3 separate regions of the Homo sapiens genome follow, and all the other regions are linked to region 3. Evidence: promoter capture Hi-C in human tissues and cell types (Jung and others, 2019). All regions are on one chromosome and are shown on one strand. The core of a region is centred on a gene start or on the middle of the fragment in contact, and the rest is flanking DNA. Distances in the headings are between cores, read along the strand shown. Region 1 overlaps KDM2B (lysine demethylase 2B). Region 2 holds the start of PSMD9 (proteasome 26S subunit, non-ATPase 9). Region 3 holds the start of MORN3 (MORN repeat containing 3).

Region 1 (3,863 bases), core at 1,140-3,639, 200 kb before region 3:
CCCGCGGCCGCCGGCAACTTGCCCCGGGCCGTGGCCGGCGCCCGGCAGGCCCGCCCGACGGCGAGGCCCGGCGGCCCACATTGTCCCCGCGGTGCCCGATGGCCCCCAGTGCGCTCGCTCGGCCGCACACGCCCCCTGCCCGGGCCGGCTGCGGGCCTGCCGCGCTCCTCTACGCCCCGCTCGGGCCCGGCCCCGGCCGCCCCGCCGGCAGCGGCAGCAAAACTTTCTCCTCATCGCGGCGGCGGCGGCGTCGCGGCCGCCCTCGGCGCGTCAGACAGGCGGTCGGGAGGTCGTGCGGCGGGTCCCTCCCTCAGCCCCACCCCGGGCCGCCGACCTGGTCCGGCTCCGATTCATAGTCGTCGTCCTCGGCGCTCACGGACATGGCCATGGCTCATGGTGGGCCCAGGCTCGCGCGCGCTGACATGGCTGGAGCGGCGCCGCCGCCGCCGCCCGCCCGGAGCAGGCTCGGCTCGCCCTGGCTCGGGCTCGGGCTCGGGCTCGGGCTCCCGCTGCCGCGAGGAGGGAGCCGCGCCGCGCGCCTCGCACGCCCGCGCTGGAGGGGGCGGGGAGGGGCCGGCGGGGGAGGGCCGGGGCGCCATGCATATGCATGAGGCGAGCCAGGAAGGGGCTGGCCCCCCGGGCGGGCGGGCCAATGGCGCGGCCGCGGCGCTGGGGCCGCACACAAAGGGAGCCCGGCCTGCGGTGACACGGGGGCGGGCCGCCGAGGGCGGTCCCTCGCGGCCGGAGCGCGGGGACTGGGGCTGCGTGGGGGCGTGCCCCGCGCCCCGCCCGGCCCGGCCTGGCCCGCGCGCCGCGGGATGCACATGGGTGGCTGCACGCCGCCACCGCTGCAACAGGAAATGCGCGCCCGGCCTGGGGTGGGGTCCTTTGTGTGGTCCCGTGGGGCGTCTCGCGGAAGCCCGGGGGCGCCCGGGCCGTGGGGGACGACTCTGCACCCGACGCCAGGAGCGGGTCCCCAGGTCCCTTGCAGCAGGCACACGGGCTGCCGGGTTTGCACTCGCTGCAGGACCAGGACCTGAAGCGCACGAACCCGGGAACCCCCGACCCAGAGCCTGCAGGACCGCTGGCCTGGATAAGCTCTGAGAGCCCAGTCTCCCCCGACGCGGGCGGTTGGGCTGGGCCGGCCTCCTGGCGCTGCACCTCCGGCACTCGGGTTCGCCTTTGCAGGGTCAAGTAGTGCAGGCGGGAGTTCCACTCGAGTCGCCTGACGGGGGCTGTCAGAACGCCCTGACTCTACCCTGAGGTGGGCGCCCCCTCCCTTGGACAGGTACCGCCTTCTGAGTTGACCTCCGAAAGGTGGAGGACGTCGCAGGCCAGAACCCAGCTCTCCTAGGAGACTGGCTGCCCCTTAGGCTGGCTGGGGAGGTGTGGGTTTCTGAATTCTTAAGCTGCAAAGGTTCCTAGTGCTCACTCCAGCTGCAGCCCACTCCTGAAGAAAAGTGTTGCTAGAAATCCAGATAGATCTTCATTCATTCAAAAAAAAAGTCTATCGGGCACTTAAGCCAGCAGCCTCTCTGAAAGAGCTCATGACCATGAGCTAGAACGACCAAAGCTGTTATAAGCATCAAAACCAAAGCTAAACACAAGCTAAGGAGGACTTGGCATACATATCATCCACCTGTCCAAGGTAACACTAAATATGCACACCTGTACCTGTTCAGTTTCTCCATCTATACAAGGGGAAGGATTTACCAAGGGATGGATAACCTTCTGTAAAAAGATCAGAGGCTTTCCCAAGAATAAGCCATGAAATCAGGTGATCAGCTCTGCAATGGCCATCTGTTAGTCACGTCCAGGCCACTGGCCACGAAATCCAGTGAGAACAGAAGGGATGGGCAGGCTGGTCCTGGCCTGGCCTTTCAAAGAAGGCAGGCTGTGTGCCGGAGACCTTGTAAACAAAACTCAGGAGGCTTCTAGCAGAGTCGGCAAAAGTGAATAAGCAGGGATGTCAGTTTTACTGAGTGGATTTTAAAGTCTGAAATTTACACACCCACTATAGAAAAAATCCCAGTCGACTTGCTCTTTGCCGAAACGTATCTGTTCTGAGTTTCCTTCCTTACTCTCCTTTTTTTGAGACAGACTCTCACTCTGTCGCCCAGGCTGGAGTGCAGTGGATCTCGGCTCACTGCAACCTCCACCTCCTGGGTTCAATCGATTCGTGTGCCTCAGCCTCCAGAGTAGCTGGGATTACAGGTGGGCGCTACCACGCCCAGCTAATTTTTGTATTTTTAGTAAAGAGGGGGGTCTCACCATGTTGGCCAGGCTGGTCTGGAGCTCCTAGCCTCAAGTGATCCACCCACCTCAGCCTCCCAAAGTGCTGGGATTACAGGCATGAGCCACCATGCCCGGCCATCACTCCCCTCTTATTTTTCAGAATCTTCTCAAAGTTGCAACAGAAACAACAAGCAAAAGAATACACCCTAACCCCCCCACCCCACCCCACATCACTCCATTCCCAAAGGTCTCAGCTTTTTAAAAGCTACCTTGATGGCTGGGCGCGGTGGCTCACGCCTGTAATCCCAGCACTTTTGGGAGGCTGAGGAGGGTGAATCACCTGAGGTCAAGAATTCAAGACCAGCCTGGCCAACATGGTGAAACCCAGTGTCTACTAAAAATACAAAAATTAGCTCGGTGTGGTGGTGCGCACCTGTAATCCCAGCTACGTGGGGGTGCTGAGGCAGGAGAATCACTTAAACCTGGGAGGCAGAGGTTGCAGTGGGCCAAGATTGTGCCACTGCACTCCAGCCTGGGCGACAGAGCGAGACTCCATCTCAAAAAAAAAAAAAAAGGCTACCTTGTTGTCTGAAGTTTGTATCTGACCTCTTGCTGGCCACTCTACTCAGTAGGAGCCTCTAAAGAAAGAGGAGGGGCTCATAACATGCCAATCATGCTTCCACTTCATTGTGATTGGTCAAGCCTACAGGGGTATAGAGTCACCCAAATAACATAATACATCAAGAGAAATGTCTAGGCCAGGCACGGTGGCTCACACCTGTAATCCCAGCACTTTGGGAGACTGAGGAGGGTGGATTGCTTGAGGTTAGGAGTTCAAGACTAGCCTGGCCAACAGAGTGAAGCCCCGTCTCTACTAAAAATACAAAAATTAACAGGTCATGGTAGCACACACCTGTGATCCCAGCTGCTCAGGAGGCTGAGGCACAAGAATCACTTGAACCCAGCAGGCAGAGGTTGCAGTGGGCGGAGATCGTGCCACTGCCCTCCAGCCTGGGCAACAGAGTGATATTCTGTCTCAAAAAAAAAAAAAAAGGAGAGAGAGAGAGATGTCTGTAAGCAGGAATTCTTCTCAAAGGTTTTTCCCATTACCAATCAGGAGCAAAAGAATTATCTTGAGGTTGATTTCCTTTGAGGACTCTCAAAAGCTCACTTCTGAATTTAAGGAAGTAAAAAAACACAATTCTCAACTATCATGGCTCAAAGAGCGGAAAGGAAAAGTGCGGACAAACAAAAAAGTTGCCGCTAACACAAACTCCCTTCCTCCCTTTATATCATTTCAGAGATAGAAGGGGGTCTCTCCTGACCCCTTCACTTCACAGGTGAGGAAATGAAGGCCCAAAGAAAATTAGGGAGTGGCTTTCAAGACCAGAGTCTCTTATATAATACCATCCAGAGAAAGACCTCCCTCCAAGGGCCCAGGCAATAACAGCAGCTTTAAGCATGTTCAAAGGGCCAGACCAGTGGTAAGTCTGCTGTAGACATGATCTCACTTATTCCTTTAAACAGCCCCATAAGGTGGGTACTTGACAGATGAGGAGACTGAGGCGCATTGCCGCGAGGAAGGGAAAGGACCTGGATCTGACTCTGTAGGCAACTGGAGCCTGGGC
Region 2 (4,268 bases), core at 458-2,957, 220 kb after region 3:
AGAGACGGTGTTTCACCATGTTGGCCAGGCTGGTCTTGAACTCCTGACCTCAAGTGATCCACCCACCTCAGCCTCCCAAAGTGCTGGGATTACAGGTGTGAATCACCACACCTGGTCCTCTGCTAATTAATTATTATTTTTTTTTTTTTGTAGAGATGGAGGTCTTGCTATGTTGCCCAGGCTAGTCTCAAACTCCTGGACCTAAGGGATCCTCCTGCCTTGATCTCCCAGCATAATGGGACTACAGGTATGAGCCACTGCACCTGTATTTCTCTCTCTCTCTCTCTCGATAATGTTAGAAATGTTAGTTTATTTTTGAGGGGTGCGGTAGCTCACTCCTGTAATCCCAGCACTTTGAAAGGCCGAGCTGGGCTGGATCACTTGAGGCCAGGGGTTCGAGACCTCAGCCTCCTGAGTACCTGGGATTACAGGTGTGTGCCACCACACCCGGCTAATATTTTATATTTTTGGTAGAGACAGGGTTTCACCATGTTGGCGAGGCTAGTCTCAAACTCCTGACCTCAAATGATCTGCTTGCCACAGCCTCCCAAAGTGCTGGGATTATAGGCATGAGCCACCACACCTGGCCCATTGCATTTAGTTGATGCACATCTTTAGTGTTCTTAAATCTAGGCAATTGCATATCCGCCTCCTTTCTCTGTCCCCCACCCCTTATTCCCCATGTGTATTTCACAACATTGACTTTTTTTGAAGTTTTCAGGCCAGTTGTTTTGAAGTATGTCCCTTCTTTTGGATATGTCTGTTTTCCAATGATTAGATTCAGGGCAAACATGTTTGAATACTACACAGATGACCGCTGAGCCCTTTTCAAGACAAAATATTAGAGGCACATGGTCAGATATCAAAGTTGATTGTTTAGGTAAGCTGGGTTGGAATTTTGGCCTCACATTTTGCTAGTTGGGTAAATTGGTTATTGAGACGGTTTTCTCAGCTGTCAAATTGGGATGTAATAATCTAGCTTCATGAGGTTGTTGAATTAATATATGTAAGGCATTTAGAACAGCGTCTGGCACATTATAAGTATCAATAAATAAACACTGTTACCGTTATTATTATCACTACGATTTTTAGAGGCCTTAACAGGAACATCCAGCACCTTCAACAGTATATGGCTCATAGGAATCATTCCATGAATATTTGTTAGCAGAAGGACAGCTCTATGAGATAGATTGCTATCAATTACTGCCCCATTTTACAGATGAGGAAACTGAGGCCCAGAGAAGCCAAGTAGTGACCTAGGGTCACACAGATTGCCGTTAAGTGGCAAGATACGGGGTGTGTACTCAGGCATATCGGATCTGTAAAGTGAGGGATAAGGAACCTTAATGTATTTTGTAAATCCTCCAGGGCTGTGTGGATGTGAAGAACTGAATTGGAGCGCCACGCAGCGGTTCTCTGGCGTACAGTATCCATCCATACAGTAGGCGCTCAATAAATGTCTGCTGCACGAATGAGAAAATGAGTCAGCTGGGGCGAGATCATCCCCTAGCGTTGGTGTGCAATTGCGTGGGGATCCATTGCTTCCGACGCTACTCCTGCCGGGTCACCACAGGCGCACGTGTTCCGGCAGGGCGCGGCTTCCGGTGACCCAGCTCCGCCCTAAGCCCCATCCCAAGCCCCGCCCCTTGACTGTTCTCGCGTTCGCGGACGGCTGTGGTGTTTTGGCGCATGGGCGGAGCCGTAGTTACGGTCGACTGGGGCGTCGTCCCTAGCCCGGGAGCCGGGTCTCTGGAGTCGCGGCCCGGGGTTCACGATGTCCGACGAGGAAGCGAGGCAGAGCGGAGGCTCCTCGCAGGCCGGCGTCGTGACTGTCAGCGACGTCCAGGAGCTGATGCGGCGCAAGGAGGAGATAGAAGCGCAGATCAAGGCCAACTATGACGTGCTGGAAAGCGTGAGTGTGGGTTCGGGGCGCCCCAAGTCGCCTAACCCGGCCCGGAGTCCCTGGGGTACTGGGATGCCAGGGCGGCCTCAGTTTGGGCGCTCCGCAACGGATCTCCCTGGGAGGCCCAAGGCGCCGCAAGTGCGGCCTCTGTCGGCACAAGAAGGCAGGCAAAGAACTTTAGCAACTGAAGAGTTAGCCATATTGATATCCAGCAAGAGTTTGTGGAGCCCTGCTGTGTGCTAGGCGCTGGTTTAAGTGCTGTGCATTGTTGAGTTAATTTAATCTTTGCAACAACCCTTTGAGGTGGATGCTGTTACTCTTTCCATTTTAGGGAGGGGGAAACAGGTGTTACTTGGTGATTAAACAGCTGTCATGTGCCTCGCTGACTGCCTTATCTTAATTTTGTACTTTTTGTAAAGACAGAGTCTCACTGTGTTGCCCAGGTTGGTATCGAACTCATGGCCTCAAGCGATCCTTCCACCTCGGCCTTTCAAAGTGCTGGGATTACAGGCGTGAGCTACTGCACCCGGCATTTGCTGATTGTATCGTGAATTCTTAAACTTCAGTGTGTATATGAATTACCTGGGGATCTTATTAAAATGCAGATTTTGTTTGAGGCAAGGGAGCAGATTCTGCATTTGTAGCAAACTCCCAGCAATGCTGATGCTAGTGGTCTAAGGACCGAACTTTGAGTTACAAATAAGGCTCATCATCCTTATTGCATAAGGAGGAAACTGAGGCCCAGAGTGGGGCAAACGCCTATCTAAGGTCATGTAGTTCGGAAGTGGCAGTGGTGGGTCTGGCTCAAAAGCTGATGCAGGTTTTCTTATGCCATCTAGTGTAAAATCACAGATCAGTTTGCAGAGGAAGATGCAATTAATTATGCCCAAGTAGGGTGGGATGGAATGCATTTTAGGTGATGTAAGATGAAGTTTCTTTTTTTTTTGTCTGAGACGGAGTCTTGCTTTGTCACCCAGGCTGGAGTGCAGTGGCTCAATCTCGGCTCACTGCAGCCTCTGCCTCCTGGGTTCAAGTGATTCTCCTGCCTCAGCCTCCCGAGTAGTAGGGATTACAGGCGAGCGCCAGTACGCCAGGCTAATTTTTTATTTTAAGTAAAAGCAGGGTTTCACCATGTTGGTCAGGCCGGTGTTGGATTCCTGACCTCAGGTGATCCGCCCACCTTGGCCTCCCCAAGTGCTGGGATTACAGGCGTGAGCCACCGCGTCCGGCCATAAGATGAAGTTTCATACGGAGGGCCAGAGAACCATTTTACTGGGTGCTGACTATATGCTCAAAGTGGGATTCAGACTTCAGGTCTGTTACATTCAGAACCTGTGCTTTCAAGCAAATTACCAGCAATTTCTCAAACTTTAGTTTACTTTCTACCACATGCAGTATACTATATGCATATACCACTTGTGTTATTCCTTTGATATTTTTATTTAAATAGATCTACTTTTAATCTTATATAAATGTATTATTATTGTTATTATTATTATTGAGACAGGGTCTCGCTCTGTTGCCCAGGCTGGAGTTCAGTGGCACCATCTTGGTTCACTGCAGCCTCAATCTCCTGGTGTCAAGCAATCCTCCCACCTCAGCCTCCCAAGTAGCTGAGACTGCAGGTACGTGCCACCACGCCCAGCTAATTTTTGTATTTTTTGTAGCTATGGGGTCTCACTATGTTGCTTGCTCAGACTGGTCTGAAACTCCTGGGCTCAAGCAGTCCTCCTGCCTCTGCCTCCCAAAGTGTTGGGGTTACAGGCATGAGCCACAGTGCCTTGCCCATAAATGTATTTTAAAAGGAAATTTCAAAACTCCGCTGCATATGGAAAATGATAATCTCTTCTCTTAAATATAAGGTCAGATGCTTTGCATGTTGATACGGCATGTTGGTTGCTTCTGGCTAGCTGCTGTTGCTTGCTGAAAGCTTTCAGCCTGAAACCGTGCTCTATATTTGTTTTTAAAAAGTGGGTTTGGGCCGGGCCTGGTGGCTCACGCCTGTAATCCCAGCACTTTGGGAGGCCAAGGTGGGTGGATCACCTGAGGCCAGGATGGTCTCGATCTCCTGACCTCGTGATCCGCCCGCCTCGGCCTCCCAAAGTGCTGGGATTACAGGCTTGAGCCACCGCGCCAGGCCTACAAAAAATTTTTTTAAAAATTAGTTGGGCGTGGTGGTGCATGCCTGTAGTCCTAGCTACTTGGGAGGCTGAGGCAGGAGGATTGCTTGAACCCTGAATGTTGAGGCTGCAGGGAGCTATAATTGCACCACTGCACTCTCTTGTGGGTGACAGAGTGAGATGCTGTCTCTTTAAAAAAAAAAAAAAAAAAAAGGCCGGGTGCGGTGGCTCATGCCTCTAATCCC
Region 3 (3,859 bases), core at 920-3,419:
CCTCAAGTGATCTGCCTGCCTCGGCCTCTCAAAGTGCTGGGATTACAGGTGTGAGCCACTGTCCCCGGCCTGCAACCTCTCTGACCTCCTCCTCTTCCTCACTCTGTTTCACCCACACCGTCCTCCTGGCTGTTCCTTGAACACCCCAGGTATATTCTCTGCTCCAGCTGGTCCTGCCACCTTCTATGCTAGTTCCTGCAAACATCCACTCAGTTACTCCCTCTCCTCCAAGTCTTTTTTTTTTTCTTTTTTTTTTGGAGACGGAGTCTTGCTCTGTCGCCCAGGCTGGAGTGCAGTGGCGAGATCTCGGTTCACTGCAAGCTCCGCCTCCTGGGTTCACGCCATTCTCCTGCCTCAGCCTCCCGAGTAGCTGGGACTACAGGCGCCCACTACCACAGCCAGCTAATTTTTTGTATTTTTAGTAGAGACAGGGTTTCACTGTGTTAGCCAGGATGGTCTCAATCTCCTGACCTCATGATCCGCCCGCCTCGGCTTCCCAAAGTGCTGGGATTACAGGCGTGATCCACCACGCCCAGCCCCACCTGGCCCATTTTTGTATTTTTTTAGTAGAGATGGGATTTCACCATATTGGCCAAGGTGGTCTTGAACTCCTGACCTCAGGTGATCTGCCTGCCTCGGCCTCCCAAAGTGCTGGGATTACAGATGTGAGCCACCACACCCAGCCTGGAACTGGGATCCTAACCCAGGTTTATTTGACTGCAAAGCACTTAACCCAGCAAGGCAGGAGAGCAGGATGGTTAAGAGCACAGAATTGGGCTGGGCGCAGTGGCTAAACGCCTGTAATCCCAGCACTTTGGGAGGCCGAGGCGGGCGGATCACTCGAGGTCGGGAGTTCAAGACCAGCCTGACCAACACGGAGAAACCCCGTCTTACTAAAAATACAAAAGTAGCCAGGCGTGGTGGCACATGCCTGTAATCCCAGCTACTCTGGAGGCTGAGGCAGGAGAATCGCCTGAACTCGGGAGGTAGAGGTTGCGGTGAGCCAAGATCGTGCCATTGCACTCCAGCGTGGGCAACAAGAGTGAAACTCCGTCTAAAAAAATAAAAAGAGCACAGAATCTAGCCAGGCACAGTGACTCCCACTTGTAATCCCAGCAATTCAGGAGGCTTGGACAGGAGGATTGCTTGAGCCCAGGATCTCGAGGCTGCAGTGAGCTATGAAGGCACCACTGCACTCCAGCCTGTTTTTTTGAGACAGAGCAAGACCTTGTCCCCTCAAAAAAAAAGAGTACAGAGTCTGGAATTGCAAGACTGGAGTGAGCAGCAGTGCCACATTTTAAAATAAAAGCTCTTTTTTCTTTATTTTTTTCCCCAGTCAGGATTTAGTTTGTATCAACAGGACCCCTTTGCCCCCTGCTGGTCAGACTTGGAGCCCCAGCTCCTCCTTGTGGGATGGAGTAGGGGGTCCTCCCTTGTGCCTGGCGCTCAGCCCTCTGCAGAGCATCACAGCTGAATGCGAAGCCCAGAACCCCACTGCAAGCTGGCTTCAGGGGCGTGGCTTTTCTTGTTGCCAGCCAGCCCAGTGCTTAACCCAGGTCTCAGAAGGCAGGAACTGAGCCCCCTAGGTCCCAGAGCCCCGGGGGCAGGCCAGTTTCTCAAGACCCTCTGTCCACTGCTGGTCCTGAGACCCTCACTCAGTTGAAGTCAGGGCTGAGTTTGTTCAGAAGCCCCAGCATGTGAAGGCCCCCAGCTGGCCTGGGCCAGCGCTCACCCTGGGGGAGCCTTGGGGACACATCTCATGTCCCCAGTGAGCTCTGCACTCTGCCTTCCTGGCCCTGTTGCCCACTGTGGCTCTGACCCCACTCCGGCCGCCCGTCCCGGAGTCCCACTCACCGTGTTTCACGTTGTCCTTCCACTCGCCCACATAGTAGTCGCCATTCACAGCGTATACCTGGCTCCGCAGGCCGTTCCTCTGGGCCTTCCGGTCCCACCCCTTCCACAGGGACTCCGACTTTTTTGGGCACTTAGAGACTGGCATGGTGGCTGCTTCTGCAAGGCTGGAGGGTGCTGGAAAGGGGTTAGGGACATCTGGGGCTCAGCGCGCCCCGTGTAATGCCGGGATCCTGAGCTCAAGTGGGGAGAGTCATGTGTGTTCTGAGTCCCTGGGGCAGGTGAACAGCCCTTAGTGGGGATCCTTTAGTGCTGGACTGACCTTTGGTTGGCCCCTCCCTTGCCTCTCCTGGGGCCCCCTCCCAGGGGGTCTGATGGCACAATTACTTGGGAATCTAGGGAAACCAGTAGAGCAGGAGGGTTTGTGATGGCATCAGGGAGAAGCTGCCCCCAGGGAGGGGGTGGCGGTCATATATACATATATATATATATATATATTTTTTTTTTTATGTCTTCTAAATATTTTTATTTATTTATGTATTTATTTATTTATTTAGAGATGGAATCTTGCTTTGTTGCCCAGGCTGGAGTGCAGTGGCACCATCTCGGCTTACTACAACCTCTGCCTCCTGGGTTCAAGTGATTCTCGTGCCTCAGCCTCCTAAGTAGCTGGTATTACAGGCGCCCACCACCACGCCTGGCTAATTTTTGTATTTTTAGTAGAGACGGGGGTTTCACCATGCTGGGCAGGTTGGTCTCAATTTCCTGATCTCAAATGATCCATCCACCTCAGCCTCTCCAAGTGCTGGGATTACAGGCATGAGCCACTGAGCCAAATATGAATCCAAAATATGAACCCAAAATATGGGTTACATATTTTGACAATCACACCTAGGAGTAGGGAAAAATAATTCCAGGCAAAGAAAATAGGCAGAGCAAAAGCTGGGAGTGGGGAAACAATCTCAGGTCCTAAATTCTATGCCGTTGGGATTTTTTCTTCTCCCATTTCCAAATATCACATGTACTATTAATCTTTATATGTAAATTAACTCACTTGGCAGAGGTTGCAGTAAGCCGAGATCATGCCGCTGCACGCCAGCTTGGATGACAGAGTGAGAACTTTTCTCAAGAAGAAAATAAAAATAAGTTAACTCACTTTAAAAAAATCAATACATATATTGAAAAAAGGAGGGCCAGGCGCAGTGGCTCATGCCTGTAATCCCAGCACTTTGGGAGGCCGAGGCGGGTGGATCACCTGAGGTCAGGAGTTCGAGACCAGCCTAGTCAACATGGTGAACCCTTGTCTCTACTAAAAATACAAAAATTAGCCAGGCCTGGTGGTACGCGCCTGTAATCCCAGCTACTCAGGAGGCTGAGGCATGAGAACAGCTTGAATCCAGGAGGCGGAGGTTGCAGTGAGCCGAGATTGCACCATTGCACTACAGGTTGGGAGACAGAGCAAGACTCAGTCTTAAAAAATAATAATAAAATAGGCCGGGCTCAGTGGCTCACGCCTGTAATCCCCAGCACTTTGGGAGGCCGAGGCGGATGGATCACCCGAGGTCAGGAGTTCAACACCAGCCTGGCCAACATGGCGAAACCCTGTCTGTACTAAAAATACAAAAATTAGCTGGGTGTGGTGGCGGGCGCCTGTAATCCCAGCTACTCGGGAGGCTGAGGCAGGAGAATCGCTTGAACCAGGGAGGAGAAGGCTGCAGTGAGCCGAGATTGCACCACTGCACTCCAGCCTGGGCGAGACAGAGTGAGACTCTGTCTCAAAAAAAAAAAAAGACTGGGCGCGGTGGCTCACGCCTGTAATCCCAGCACTTTGGGAGGCCGAGGCGGGTGGATCACGAGGTCAGGAGATTGAGACCATCCTGACTAACATGGTGAAACCCCGTCTCTACTAAAAATACAAAAGATTAGCCGGGCGTGGTGGCGGGCGCCTGTAGTCCCAGCTACTCGGGAGGCTGAGGCAGGAGAATGGCATGACCCGGGAGGCGGAGCT

The links. Contacts are between HindIII fragments. The study calls those that stand out against the background at their distance.
Region 1: a contact is called between a fragment that was not itself captured here and the fragment with the promoter of MORN3 in region 3, in 1 of the 25 tissues and cell types used here (spleen).
Region 2: the fragment with the promoter of PSMD9 here is called in contact with the fragment with the promoter of MORN3 in region 3 in 1 of the 25 tissues and cell types used here (adrenal gland).

Annotation. Positions count from the first base shown.
Region 1 is chr12:121,466,824-121,470,686 of GRCh38, forward strand. All of the region lies in intron 12 of KDM2B (lysine demethylase 2B), which reads right to left. Among named protein-coding and RNA genes, the nearest start is that of MIR7107, 24 kb to the left of the region's middle. RefSeq lists a silencer at 174-983. The HindIII fragment of the contact is 5,841 bases long and covers 1-3,863 here.
Region 2 is chr12:121,887,083-121,891,350 of GRCh38, forward strand. PSMD9 (proteasome 26S subunit, non-ATPase 9) reads left to right here and starts at 1,708. Exons shown (of 6, transcript NM_002813.7): 1 at 1,708-1,912. The coding sequence starts at 1,775. It also overlaps a transcript of HPD not described here. RefSeq lists enhancers at 1,365-1,978, 1,612-2,011, 1,979-2,592. The HindIII fragment of the contact is 23,703 bases long and covers 1-4,268 here.
Region 3 is chr12:121,667,485-121,671,343 of GRCh38, forward strand. It overlaps MORN3 (MORN repeat containing 3), which reads right to left and starts at 2,170. Exons shown (of 6, transcript NM_173855.5): 1 at 1,855-2,170. The coding sequence starts at 1,999. The region is part of intron 1 of LOC105370034 (a long non-coding RNA gene); the gene reads left to right. The HindIII fragment of the contact is 82,615 bases long and covers 1-3,859 here.